2 separate regions of the Homo sapiens genome follow, and region 2 is linked to region 1. The links are contacts of gene promoters, found by promoter capture Hi-C in blood cells and fetal thymus (Javierre and others, 2016). All regions are on one chromosome and are shown on one strand. Each heading gives the region's core, a stretch centred on a gene start or on the middle of the fragment in contact. The rest is flanking DNA. Distances are from core to core; before and after follow the strand shown.

What was found. Contacts are between HindIII fragments. The CHiCAGO score rates a contact against its expected background, and 5 or more counts as called.
Region 2: a fragment that was not itself captured here is called in contact with the fragment with the promoter of FAM50B in region 1 in 1 of 17 cell types (endothelial precursors); the score reaches 5.3 in endothelial precursors.

What each region holds. Positions count from the first base shown.
Region 1 is chr6:3,844,585-3,851,244 of GRCh38, reverse strand. FAM50B (family with sequence similarity 50 member B) reads right to left here and starts at 1,872. Exons shown (of 2, transcript NM_012135.3): 1 at 1,759-1,872; 2 at 1-1,456. The coding sequence starts at 1,433. The coding sequence ends at 456. LOC107986557 (a long non-coding RNA gene) reads left to right here and starts at 1,879. Exons shown (of 3, transcript XR_001743931.2): 1 at 1,879-1,929; 2 at 2,596-2,856; 3 at 5,153-6,557. RefSeq lists an enhancer at 1,689-1,808 and a silencer at 2,079-2,198. The HindIII fragment of the contact is 3,705 bases long and covers 71-3,775 here.
Region 2 is chr6:3,933,949-3,940,608 of GRCh38, reverse strand. No RefSeq gene overlaps it. Among named protein-coding and RNA genes, the nearest start is that of TGILR, 25 kb to the right of the region's middle. The HindIII fragment of the contact is 640 bases long and covers 3,682-4,321 here.

The DNA.
Region 1 (6,660 bases), core at 623-3,122:
TTATAAAGTAAGTGCTCTTGTTATTTCCTTTTACAGGTGACCAAACTGAGGCATGGGGGTTTAATAAGCTTACCCAAAACTACACAGCAAGGAGGAGGCTGTGTCGGGAATCAAACTCAGTCACTGTGGCCCCCAAGTCCATGCTCATAACCACCAGGTAAAAAATGTGCCTCCTATTCTAATTTCTGTCTGACAGTGGGCCCAGTCATGGTTTCAATACAGCTCAGCAGAGCAATGCAGCAAATCCAGGTGGCAACACTAAAATACTCAGAAAAGACCAACCAAGCAACCAAAGCATAACATCAGCAATAGCACAACCAATGTGAATCATGAGAACCCTCTGTCTTTATTAAATTTGGGGGAAGAAATCAAGGTCACGAAATCAAGTGACTGGTGATGGGGCCTAGAAATGAGTGTCTCCCCCCACCCCCGGTTTCCGCTCTGGCAGGCGGGTGTTAGCGGATGGTGTACTTGTCCCACTTCTTCTCGGGGTCATAGGCCTCCCAGCGGCTGGCGGGGAAGATGTGCTTGTTCTTCTCGTACCAGCTGCGCAGCACCACCTTGCCCGCGTGCGACTCGTCCTTCTCCATGGTGGCGTCGCTGAGCAGGCGCACGTCATCGTGCACATCGAAGCTGAAGAGCGGCCCGCTCTTGCCCCTCGCCCTGGCGATGATGAAGTCGTAGAAGGTGTGGTAGTGCGGCAGGATGAGGTCCTCCTTGATGAACATGAGCTGCTCCACGCCGGCGGAGCGCAGCTCCAGGAAGTCCTTGCGCAGCCCCTGCAGCGCCTTCTTCAGGAACTGCTGCACCGTGTTGCCCTTGCGCACCCGCACCGTGCGCCGGTGGCCCGAGCCGTCCCAGTAGCTGAAGGTGACCTCCATCTCCTCGTCCTTCACTTTCTCGCGCTGCGCCTCCCACTCTTGGCGCAGCTCCTCTCGGAGCCGGTTCTCCTCCTCCTCGCGGTCGCGGTCTGGCAGGAAGCTGGTGTCCACGTCGGGGTTCTTGCCCAGGTTTCCGGCGCGCCTGGCCTCGGCCGCGTCGGCCTGGTCATCGAGGTCGTCTAGTGCAAAGGACAGGCAGGAGATCTTACGCTTGCGCTCGCGCCGCTGCTCCTGCTCCCGCTGCCGCTCCTGCTGCAGCCGCTGCTCCTCCAGGTGCTGGCGCTTGGCCAGCTGCCGCTCGCGCTCCCTGACCAGGGCCTCCTGCCGGGCCTTCATGTCGTTCAGGGTCACCAGGCCCACCGTGCTGGACTTCAGCTCGGCCTCCACGGCGTCGTAATGCGCCGAGAACCTCTTGTCCACCTGCGACTTGAGGATGGTCTCCTCGGCGATGCGCTGCTTCAGCACCTCCATCTGCTCCCGCTGCCTTTCGCGCTTCTTGAGGAGGTGCATGGCACGGCCTGCCTCGCGCATGGTGCCCTTGTACTGCGCCATGGCCCGCGCCTACCCGATGGGCTCTGCAGCAAAGAGGAAAAACGCGGCAGGTAGAGGGGGGCCCACGCAACGGCGGGGAATGCTCAGCTCTGCGCCTCCTCACAGGGCTTTCGGCAGTGATGGAAGCGTTCAGGGGCTGGGCCGACCTGCTAGGGTAACCACCAACCTGACAGTGTCACCAGGCACCAATTTCCAGCATTTTATTTGACCTCAATAAATGCAAATGCGAACGGCCCCACGTAACGGGTGGCTGCCATGCCTGAGCGCAGCGCTGAATTTGGGGAGCTGCATACAGAGAGGGTTGGGCTACTGAGCGGACCCTTACCTGCCCAAGCACCCTGTCGAGCGGAGACACGCGGGAGCTGACCTCCACGAGAACCACCCACGAGCAGAGGCCCACTCGCCCCGGGCTCTCGCGACAGCCGTGGACACAGGAAGTGGAGGCGGTGCGCCCCCTGGCGGGGAGGCGGGCCCTGAGGAGAGTGCCAGGCTCCTGGTAGGGCGGCTGCGGAAACAGGAAGTGGAGGTGGATCGCCCCCTGGCGGGGAGGCGGGCCCTGGGAAGAGCTCCGGGCTCCTGGTAGGGGCGGTGCTCCTGTGGGGCGGGCCAGCGCGGGGAGGATCCTGGAGGAGGCGCTTCTGGCCCTGCCCAGCCGTGGCTGGCCGGGGCTCCTGTTTTCACGCTGTGGGCAGGGCGGGCCCCCACCTGCTGTGCGTGCGTGCTGAGCCTTCTCGTGCCCAACTGTAAACACGCAGAAGCAATGTGGGCGCAGCGCAAGCTGCTGTGGCCACCCAGAGAGCCTTGCAACACGGCCCTGCTCTCCAACCCTCCTCCTCCCGCCTCTGATGCTACCCCGCTGTGGCGTCTCGTGAACATTACCTGCGCACCACTGCCTGTAATTCTTTCTTATGGCCCCAACACAACCATTCTTTGATAATAGAACCCTACTCGCCCCCCAGTTTCGTGACAAAACCTGCACTCAGCTTGTTTGACCTCTTCTATACAGCAGTTTCCCCCGGGTTCTAAGCTCTAATAACCATGGGACACTGAGTTAAAGTGTAGCAGTGTCTTTACTGTGAGCCTCTAACATGCCAGTTTCCACTGTAACTCTCCAAGAGCAGGGCAGACCAGTTCATGTTTCGTGACCGTTTCTCCCCTGCAGGAGATCTGGTAACACTCGCCGAAACCAGTGCTTCCTGGGACCTAGTTTGGAAAAGCTGGTTGTGAAATACATACTGCGGTTCAGCCTCCTCCCGCCTAAGAGCAACAATGCCTGTGAGCATAACCTTACCAAGAAGCGTGAATCATATGATAATTACATATGGCACCCACATATCCAGAGGAGAACAGCACGGTGTGAGCCCTCATCAAATTGTCCAAGCCAGAAACCTAGGCCTTTTCCTGGAATGACGTTCCTCCACAGGTAATCAATTACAGAAGAGCCTTTCACACTTTCCTTTTTCTCCCATTCCCCACCACTTGCCTTAATCTAGGAAATTAGCATTTTTTTTAATCTAAAGCCTTCTCATTGTTGCCCCATCACCAGAATACAAGAATATCTTATTTTATTGAGCTCTGGGATACTGTGTGTTTTGTTTTTGTTTTTACAAATTGAAGATTTGTGGCAACACAGCGTCAAGCGCCTACTGGCTCCATTTTTCCAGCAGCATGTGCTCACTTCGTGTTCCTGTGTCACATTTTGGTAATTCTTGCAATATTTCAGACTTTTTCATTGTGATATCTGCTATGGTGATCTGTGATCATCGTTCTGTGAGGTTATTGTAATTGTTTGGGGGCACTCCGAAGTGTGCAGTAGAAGACAAAGACGTTTATTGATTTAACTGATAAATGTTATGTATGTTCTGACTGCTCCACTGACTGGCTGTTCCTTCATCTCTCTTCCTGTCCCTAGGCTTCCCTAGTGCCTGAGACACAGCAATATTGAAATTAGGCCAATTAATAACCCTACAATGGCCTCTAAGTGTTCAAGTGAAAAGAAGTGTCACACGTCTCTCACTTTAAATCAAAGGCTAGAAATGATTCAGCTCAGTGAGGAAAGTATGTCAAAAGCCAGGATAGGCCAAAAGCTAGGCCTCTTTTGCCAAACAGTTAGCTAAGTTGTGAATGCAAAGGAAAAAAATCTTGAATGAAACTGAAAGCGCTTTCCTGGTAAACATATGAATGATAAGAAAGCAAAACAGCCTTATTGCTTATATGGAGAAAGTTCTAGTGGTCTGGATAGAAGATCAAACCAGCCACGACATTCCCTTAAACCAAAGCCTAATCCAGGGCAAGGCCCTAAGTCTCTTCAATTCTGTGAAGCTGAGAGAGGTGAGGAAGCTTCAGAAGAAAAGTCTGAAGGTAGCAGAGGTTGGTTCATGAGGCTGAGGAAGGAAGTCACCTCTATAACATAAAGTGCAAGGTGAAGCAGCAAGTGTGATGGAGAAGCTGCAGCAGGTTATCCAGAAGATCTAGCTAAGAGCACTGATGACGGAGGCTACCCTAAACAATACATTTTCAATGTAGACAAAATAGCCTTCTATTGGAAGAAGATGCCATTTAGGACTTTTATATCTAGAGAGGAGAAGTCAATGCCTGGCTTCATGGCTTCAAAGGACAGGTTGACTCTCTTGCTAGGGGCTAGTGTAGCTGGAGACTTTCAGTTGAAGCCAATGCTCACTTACCATTCTGAAAATCTTAGTGCCCTTAAAAATTATGCTAAATCTACTGTGCCTGTGCTCTGTAAATGGAACAACAAAACCTGGAGGACAGCACATCTGTTTACAGCATGGTTTACTGAATATTTTTAAGCCCAGTGTTGAGACTTACTGCTCTGATTATTCCTTTCAAGATATTATTACTCATTAACAATGCACTTGGTCACCTAAGAGCTTGATGGAGATGCTCAAGGAGATTAAAGTTGATTTCATGCTTGCTAACACAACATCCATTCTGCAACCCATAGATCAAGGAGTAATTTTGACTTTTAAGTCTTATTATTTAAGAAATACATTTCCAAAGGTTATAGCTGCTGTATGTAATGATTTCTCTGATGGATCTGGGCAAAGTAAATTGAAATTTTTCTGGAAGGCATTCACCACTGTAGGTGCCATGAAGGACATTCACAGTTTTTGGGAGGAGGTAAAATATCAACATTAACAGAAGTTTGGAAGAAGTTGATTCAAACAGCATTACATGTTACAAAGAAATCTTTCGTGAAAGGTAGAATCAATCAATGTGACAAACTCAATATTGATTTAAGAAACTGCCACAGGCCCAGCCTTTGGCAACCACCACCCTGATCAGTCAGCAACCATCAACACTGAGGCAAGACCCTCCACCAGCAAATAGAGCACAGCTCACTGAATGCTCAGAGGATCATTAGCATTATTTAGCAATTAAGTATTTTTAATGAAATTATGCACATTATTTTCTTAGACAAAATGCTACTGCACACTTACTAGACTATAGTATAGTATAAACATAACTTTTATATGCACTAGAAAATTTAAAAATTTGTGTGACTGTCTTTGTGGTGGTCTGGAACTGAACCCACAGTATCTCCGAGGTATGCCTGTATTCTTGTTCTTGTCTAACTTCTATACAATATCCTCAGAGATCTTCATAAAAAATGAATCTGATAACATTACTCTCCTACTTGAAAAACTCCAACTTCCCTTGTAACAGCCACATCAGAATCTCTTTGTTTGTCCTCTAAGGTCTCTAATAGGTGGACCCCTGCAGCATTCACCCAGCTTTTTCACTGCGCCTGAATAGAAGATGCCCTTTCAGGCCAGGCGCAGTGGCTCACACCTGTAATCCCAGCACTTTGGGAGGCCGAGGCGGGTGGATCACGAGGTCAAGAGATCGAGACCATCCTGGCCAACATGGTGAAACCCCGTCTCTAATAAAAATAAAAATAAAAAAAATTAGCTGGGTGTGGTGGTGCATGCCTTGTAGTCCCAGCTGCTCGGGAGGCTGAGGCAGAAGAATTGCTTCAACCCAGGAGATGGAGGTTGCAGTGAGCCAAGATCGCACCACTGCACTCCAGCCTGGTGACCCAGAAAGACTTCATCTAAAAAAAAAGTTGCCCTTTCATAACTGTTACCTCTGGACGTACTCTTTCTAGAAAGTCCTGCCCTTCGCTGTGCTATCCCTGAAGATCAGCACAAATGTCATCTCCAAGAGGAAGCCTGGAGCACCCACCATCACCATCACCACCCACAGATGGACAAAATTACCAATAGTCTCCTCTCTCAGGTTTCCCATATAATTACCTTTATTACACTTAACATAAATAAGATAGCCTCTCCACCTCTTTTTTTCAGTTAAATGATCCAACCAACTAAACTTTAATTCAATCGACTATCGTTTGGCCACAAATACTATATTCACTCTTTCTCTAATCGAATCAGAACTTGAATGTCAATATCATCCCTAAACCTTATCATCCACCCTCCCATTATCCAGCATCCACCTCCTGAACTCAGTCACGGCCTCCAAATACTATAGCCAGCTCCCAGAATTAAAAGGTTGAGCCTCAAATTCTCAGAAAAGTTTAACAAGAAAAACAACTAGAAAGAAGGAGATTTATCCTAAAAGTCTGATATACTGTTCTGTAGAATTTTCCCCTAAGTTCCAAGATGATAACTTCCTCTTTCAGCCTTAATTCTCAGCGAAAATACCCACAAAACTAAAAGCTACTGCTTTAAGCTCTTAAATTTTATCAGCAAAATGAGGCTGAGGACCCGAGCCCACGCAAATGGTGAAACTTTAAGAAAGAAGAATAAATAGAACAAAAAAGAATGATTGTTCTAGTTATTCTTCCCTGATTGAGACATTATGGTTTGTTTTTCCAATAGGTTTTGTCATAAAGGAGGAAATAGGCATATTACAGAAAAGTTTGAAAAGAAATGTAAATAAATAAAAAGTTCACTCAACATGAACACATAAGTAACATAACTATTAATGTTTGCAAGTTCCCTTCCAATATTTTATGTGCACATAGATCTGTATATATTTAGCAATTTTAATCAAACTTTGCATCCCATTTGATGACTTTTTTTCCATTTAAGTTTTTTTTTCTGTTTTTGTTTTTGAGACGGAGTCTGGCTCTGTCTTCCAGGCTGGAGTAGTGCAATGGTGCGATCTCGGCCCACTGCAACCTCCGCCGGCTGGGTTCAAGTGATTCTCCTGCCTCAGCCTCCCGAGTAGTTGGGATTACAGG
Region 2 (6,660 bases), core at 2,752-5,251, 87 kb before region 1:
ATTTTTCAAATGATTATATTTCTCAATGATTAAGCACCACGATCAAGTATGAAAAACAAATATTCAAAAATTTTCAATATATGCAATATATGTGATGAACATTTTAGTATTAAGAATGTTAAGAATCAGCAGTTTTAAAAAATAAAAAATGTAATAACATGAAAATATTTTAAACATTACTATAAATGAATAAAAAAGCATATATTTTTAAGCATCAGATTGGCAGAGATAGGAAAACTCACATCATGCCCTATGCCCATGAGAGACTGGGAAAAGCACCTGCTCATATATTACTGGTGGGAGCATTCATAGACACAGCGCTTTCGTAAGACTGTTTGGCAGTGTGTGATGACAGTTTAGAACTTGCACACTCATTTTCCGACATGGGAATTTCTTCTTAATTCATGCTGAGATAAGCAGACAAACCTCAAAGGAGACTGGCCGAGGATGGCTGAGTGCAGCGTTATTTATCTCCCATGCCGTCAGTGGAGAGCCTGCTCTGCCTCCTGTTCCGGTGATGTGCAACTCACTGGATTCAGAGCTTATGCGTAGCCCCAGGGCAAACCCAAGGTACCCGGCTAGTGACTGAAGGGACATTTCTTCTGTTCTGGGTAGAACAGTCACAGATTCTAGAGCAGGGGCCCTGACACTTGATGAGGAGCATCCACTTTGTCTTTCCCTGAAGCAAATCATTAATGTCCAGCACATGGCAGTTATGTCAGCTCCACAGATGGAGCCTGGCCCATGTGGCTGCTGTCCCCTGGGCTCAGCGTCCCTGCTCTGAGATCCACCTGCAGGTATTTAGCCAGGGCAGGTCTGGTCTCCTGCACTGACTGGCACCAGCCAGGATTAGAGACTGAGTGGCCTGGGGCTCCCTCCTGTGTCACCTTCGTTAAAGCTTCGAGTTCCAGGAGCAGCAGCCTTCTCCTTCCACCCTCTTCAGGAACACCACTGGAGCCTGGTGGCCATCTGGGTGACCCGATGCCCTCAGAGCAGCAGGGTTTGCTCCGTCGTCATGAATGGCATCTCCATGTGCCAGTGTCATCAGATGGTCAGAATGGGGTGTGGGGAGCACAAGGCAGTTGTGTTGTGGATTTTTTTTTCCTAGAGGAATTAGAAACCTATTTACATACAGTTAGCATGAATTTACATACGATCCTCTCATAACTAACTCCAAAAACTTCTCTATGAATTCAACTAATTAGTGCAACTAATCACTATTGTAGCCCAACCCAGCATTAAGGGCATTAAATACATAAAATACTGAATAGATTTGTAAAGTCATCATCATGATAATGGTAAATCAGCTTAGGTCGCTCCCAAACACAGCTGGCAATAGCTGCTCCCAGTCCTGATTCTTTATGCTGGAGCGATAGCTCAATTAACAAATTCCAGAGAAATTGTACCTTTATAACAGTTGGCTGAGTTAACTCCTACTCCCCACCTCCCCTAAAAAGCACAAAGAAGGAAAAGAAACTAATGTTAATTTACCATCTTTCATTCAATAGGCACTGTGCTAAGGGGGCACAGTTATTATTCCACATGTATTCTGTCATTCAATAAGAAATCTACATAGTTGTTGGTTGATGAAGAGAAGAACACATAGAGAATGTCACATTGTAGATTTGTAGGTTATCTGAGATTGCCCTTAGGGTGTGCAGTGTTTGGCCTGCATGAATGCCTGCCGCAGCTGAGTCTACCTTTCCCTCCTTTCTTACCCTGTATCCTGGAGTGACTAGACCACGGCCTGCCTTACTTGAGAATAGAAACTGTGGGGAGGGGAGCAGCTCAACCTGCTCTGCCACTGGCCATGTGTTGAATCCCAACTGATGGGTTCCACTGGGCATTGATATTGTCCTGCACATTATTGAAATGACATGCTCACCACTGGTGTGTATAGCTGACTTTCAGTAGGATTTGGGGAAATGTTACCCCTTCAGAGGTTGGGCAGGGGATAGGAGGGATCTGTTCTCAAACAGTACAAGAGTCCTCAAAATTCAAGCTACTCTGTGCAGTCATCTTAAAGTACTGATTTTTTTTCTTCCTTTCTTTTTTTTTTTTTTTTTTTTTTGAGATGGAGTCTCGCTCTGTCACCTAGGCTGGAGTGCAGTGGAGCAATCTTGGCTCACTGCACCCTCTGCCTCCCAGGTTATAGTGACTCTCCTGCCTCAGCCTCCTGAGTAGCTGGGATCACAGGTATGCACCACCACGCCTGGCTAATTTTTGCATTTTTGTAGTAAGAACAACCTGTGAGTCATTCTCCTGGTGAATACCTTTCCACTGTGGCCCTAGGGCCTAGAACCTTCTCCTGTGGACCTGACTACCAGCAACAGAGAAGTTTACTTCTTGCAGATGAGCTCAGTTCTGTGCTAATGAGCTCTTCTTTCCCCACTGCTGCCCCCAGACATGGCTGCATAAACCTTCGCCAGCCAACCTTTGCTGTGGAGGGCAACCATGGTGAAATCCACCGCCATTGGCCTTGAACAGAGACGGTGTCCTGGCTGAGAAGTTAGAGGGAGGAGAAGTGTCTAGTCTTCATAGCTTTCCAAAATGGTCCTGTCCTGTGTGGCAGGGTGTTTCTAGGGTAATAGAGTTTCAGTTATACTGTGGCCTGATTGATATCCAAACACTCCATGGAACTTTTTTTCTAGAAAAAAAATGTGTGGCTACCAATAAATTCATAAACAAATTGATAGGTAATTCTTTTGTAATTTGGGGTAGACCGCCTGGTCCAATATTTTAAAGCTATTGTAGCATAGTTATTTTTAAAATAAATCACTGCCCTACCTTAAGTCAATTTCTCCCAACACCAGAGTGATAGTTCAAAATTATAAATGTGAGTAAACTGTAGAATGAAATTTCCAGTGTCTCTGAATGGACTGTGCTCATTGCCCTGTCATTGCCCATTGTCTTATCCATCCACTAAGATCTCACTTTCCTCCTTCTGTGACTTCCCCTTCTTTGAACGTCTCTGGGACCTGCTTGATTAGGCACTGCCTTGCGTGTTCATTTTTTTTTTTTTTTGAGTTTTGTATTGTGAAGTAGATTTTAAGTCCCATGAGTGAGAAGATGTATCTTATGCTGCTTCTGTATTGGTAGCACCATTTGGCTCACTGTTATATGTCCCAATATGAAGCTATGTTTCTCATGTTGAGTTTAGGTGATATCACATGGCTATAAAGGGGTCAGTTCTCCAACAAGACAAAACAATTCTTCATGTATATTCACCCAGCAACAAAGCATCAAAATATAAAGCAAAAACAGATAGAATACAAGGAGAAATACATGAATTCCATGTTATAGCTGGAGACTTCAACACCAGTATATCAGTAATTGACAAATCTAACAGGCAGAATATCAGTGAGGTCATAGTTGTACTGAGCAGAACCATCAATCAACTGGATGTAATTGACATTGTAGACAATTTATCTAACAACAGCAGAGTAAGCATTCTTCTCAAATTCATGCAGCTCATTCAACAGGATACACCACACTCTGGGCCATAAAACATACCTTAACAAATTTATAAGACTAGAAATCATACAAAGTTTGCTGTAAGACCACAATGAAGTTAAAATTAAAAAAAAGAAACAGATAGTCGGAAAATCCCAAAATCCTTGGAGATTAAACAATACACTTCGAAATAACACATGGGTCAAGGAATAGGTCTCAAGAGAAGCTTAAAAGTGGTTTGAATTAAATAAAAATGCAAATACAACTTTTCAAAATTTGTGGAATGCAGTAAAAACAGTGATGGGGGACATTCATAGCACTGAATGAACATATTAGAAAAAAGATATATCTAAAATCAATAATCTAGTTTCGAATTTACTATTAGAAAAAAGATATACCTAAAATCAATAATCTAGTTCCCAATTTACCTTAGGAAACTAGAAAAAAGAGAAATCCAAAATAAGCAAATGAAAAGAAATAATAATAATAAAATAAAAATTAGAACAGAAATCCAAATAAGCAGACAAAAAGAAATAATAAAAATTAGAACAGAAATCAATGAAATTGAAAGCAGAAAATCAACCCCAAAGTTGATTCTTTGAAAAGATGAATAAACTTGACAAACCTTTAGCCAGACTAAGGAAGACAGTAGAAACAATACTAACACCAGAAAATAAAGATGGGCCATTGTGATGCCATGAACATTAAAGGGATAATAAAGGATTATTATGAACAACTCTACGTCCACACATTTGATAGCCTAGATAAAATGGATCAATTCCTTGTATCAATTCCTCTATCCAGACTCTCAGAAGACACATAGGTAATCTCAATAGAACTAAGTCTGCTAAATTTTAATCAATAAGCTTCCAGCTAGGCATGGTGGCTCACACCTGTAATTACAGCACTTTGGGAGGCTGAGGCAGGAGGATCCCTTGAGTCCAGGAGTTCAAGACCAGCCTGGGCAACATAGTGAGACCCTGTCTCCACACTAACTAAAAAAATTAGCTGGACATGGTGACATGTGCCTGCAGTCCCAGCTACTTGCAAGGCTGAGGTGGGAGGATCGCTTGAGCCTGGGAGTTTGAAGCTATAGTGACCCATGATAGTGCCACTGCACTCAGCCTGGGTGACAGAGTGAAACCCTGTCTCAAAAAAACAAACAAAACAAAACAAAACAAAAACAACTTCCAAAACAGAAAGCAGCAGGCCCAAATAGATTCACAGGTGAATTCTACCAACATGTAAGGAAGAAATTATACCAATTCTCTACAATCTTTTCTAGAATGTAAAAGAAGAGAGAATAATTTCTAACTCATCCTACGAAGCCAGTATTACTCTAATATAAAAACCAAAAACATTACAAGAAAGGAAAACTATAGACTGATATCACTGATGAACGTAGACAGAATAATCCTCAACAAAATATTAGCAAATCAAATCCAGCAGTGTATTATTTCAGGCATGCAAGCCTGGTTCACCATTTGAAGGTCAATTAATGCAATCTATCACATGAACATGCTAAAGAATAAAATATATGATCATATCAATAGATGCAGAAAAAGTATTTGATAAAATTCAAACTCATTCATGACTAAAAAAAAAAAAAAAAAACTCTCCACAAACCAGGAACAAAGGGTAATTTCCTTAATTTTATAAGAAATATTTACCAAAACCCTACAGCTAACCTCATACTAAGAGTGAGAAAGTAGATGCTTTCCTGGTAACATCAGGAATAAGGCAAGGACATCCCCTCTTACACCATTTAGACTCAACATTGTTGCGATGTCCTAGCTTACACAATAAAACAAGAAAAGGAAAGAGACAACACAGTCCCTGGGTGTCTATGGAAAATTGATTCCAGGAACCTGTCTTTCATACCCAAATCCATGGATCCTTAAGTTCCTTATATAAAATGGTGTCGTATTCGCATGTAACCTACATACACCCTCCCACAAACTTTAAATTACCTCTAGATTATACTACCTAAAAATGCTATGAAAAATAGTTGTTATGCTGTATTGTTTTTTAAGTGGTATTTTTAAAATTGTCTTTTCCCAAATAGTTTGATCCATGGTTGGTTGAATTCGTGGATGCAGAACCCACATATATGAAGAGCTGATTGTAAATAGATTGGAAAGGAAGAAACAAAACCATCTTTTTTTTTTGTACATTACATGACTGTCTATGTAGAAAATCCCAAAGGATCAACGGAAGTCCTAAAACTGCTGAACAATTATAGTAAGCCTGCAGGATACAAGATTAATATAAAAATATCCATTGCCTTCCTGCATACCAATAATGAACAATTGGAATTTGAAATTTAAAACAAATTGTCATTTAAATTATTTAGCACCAAAAAGAAAGAAAGATTTAGGTTCAAATCTAACAAACCAAGTACGAGATCTATATGAAGAAAACTACAAAACTCTGTTGAAAGACATCAAAAAAGATCTAAATAAATTGAGAAATAATCCATGTTTGTGACTAGAAAAACTCAACATTGGCAAGATTTCAGTTTTTCCAGACCTGATCTACAGATTCAACACAATCCCAATCAAATCCCAGCAAGTTATATTGTAGATATCAACAAACTGATTCTAGGGTTTATATGGAAAGGCAAAAGACCCAGAATAGTCAACAAAAATATTGAAGGAGAATAATAAAGTCAGAGAAATAATGCTATACAACTTCAAGATTTACTATAAAGTTACAATAATCAAGACAGTGTAATATTGATGAAAGATTAGTGAAATAGATCTATGACATACAAGTGAGATCTCAGAAATAGATCCACATAAATAGAGTCAACTTGTCTTTGACAAAGGACAAAGACAATTCAATGGAGCAAAGATGGTCTTTTCAACTAATGATACTGGATCAACTGGACATCCACATACAAAAAAGACCTTAGACACAGACCTTACACCCTTTCTAAAAATTAACTCAAGATGGATCACAGACCTAAATGTAAAATATAAAACTATCAAACTCTAAAAGATAACATAGGAGGCCAGGCATGGTGGCTCACACCTGTAATTCCAATGCTTTGAGAGGCTGAGGCTGGAGGATCACTTGAGGCCCGGAATTTGAGACCAGCCTGGGCAACATAGTGAGACCTCGTCTCTAGAAAAAATAAAATTAGCCCAATGTGATGGTATGCATCTGTGTCCCAGCTCCTTGGGAGGCTGAGGCAGGAGGATTGCT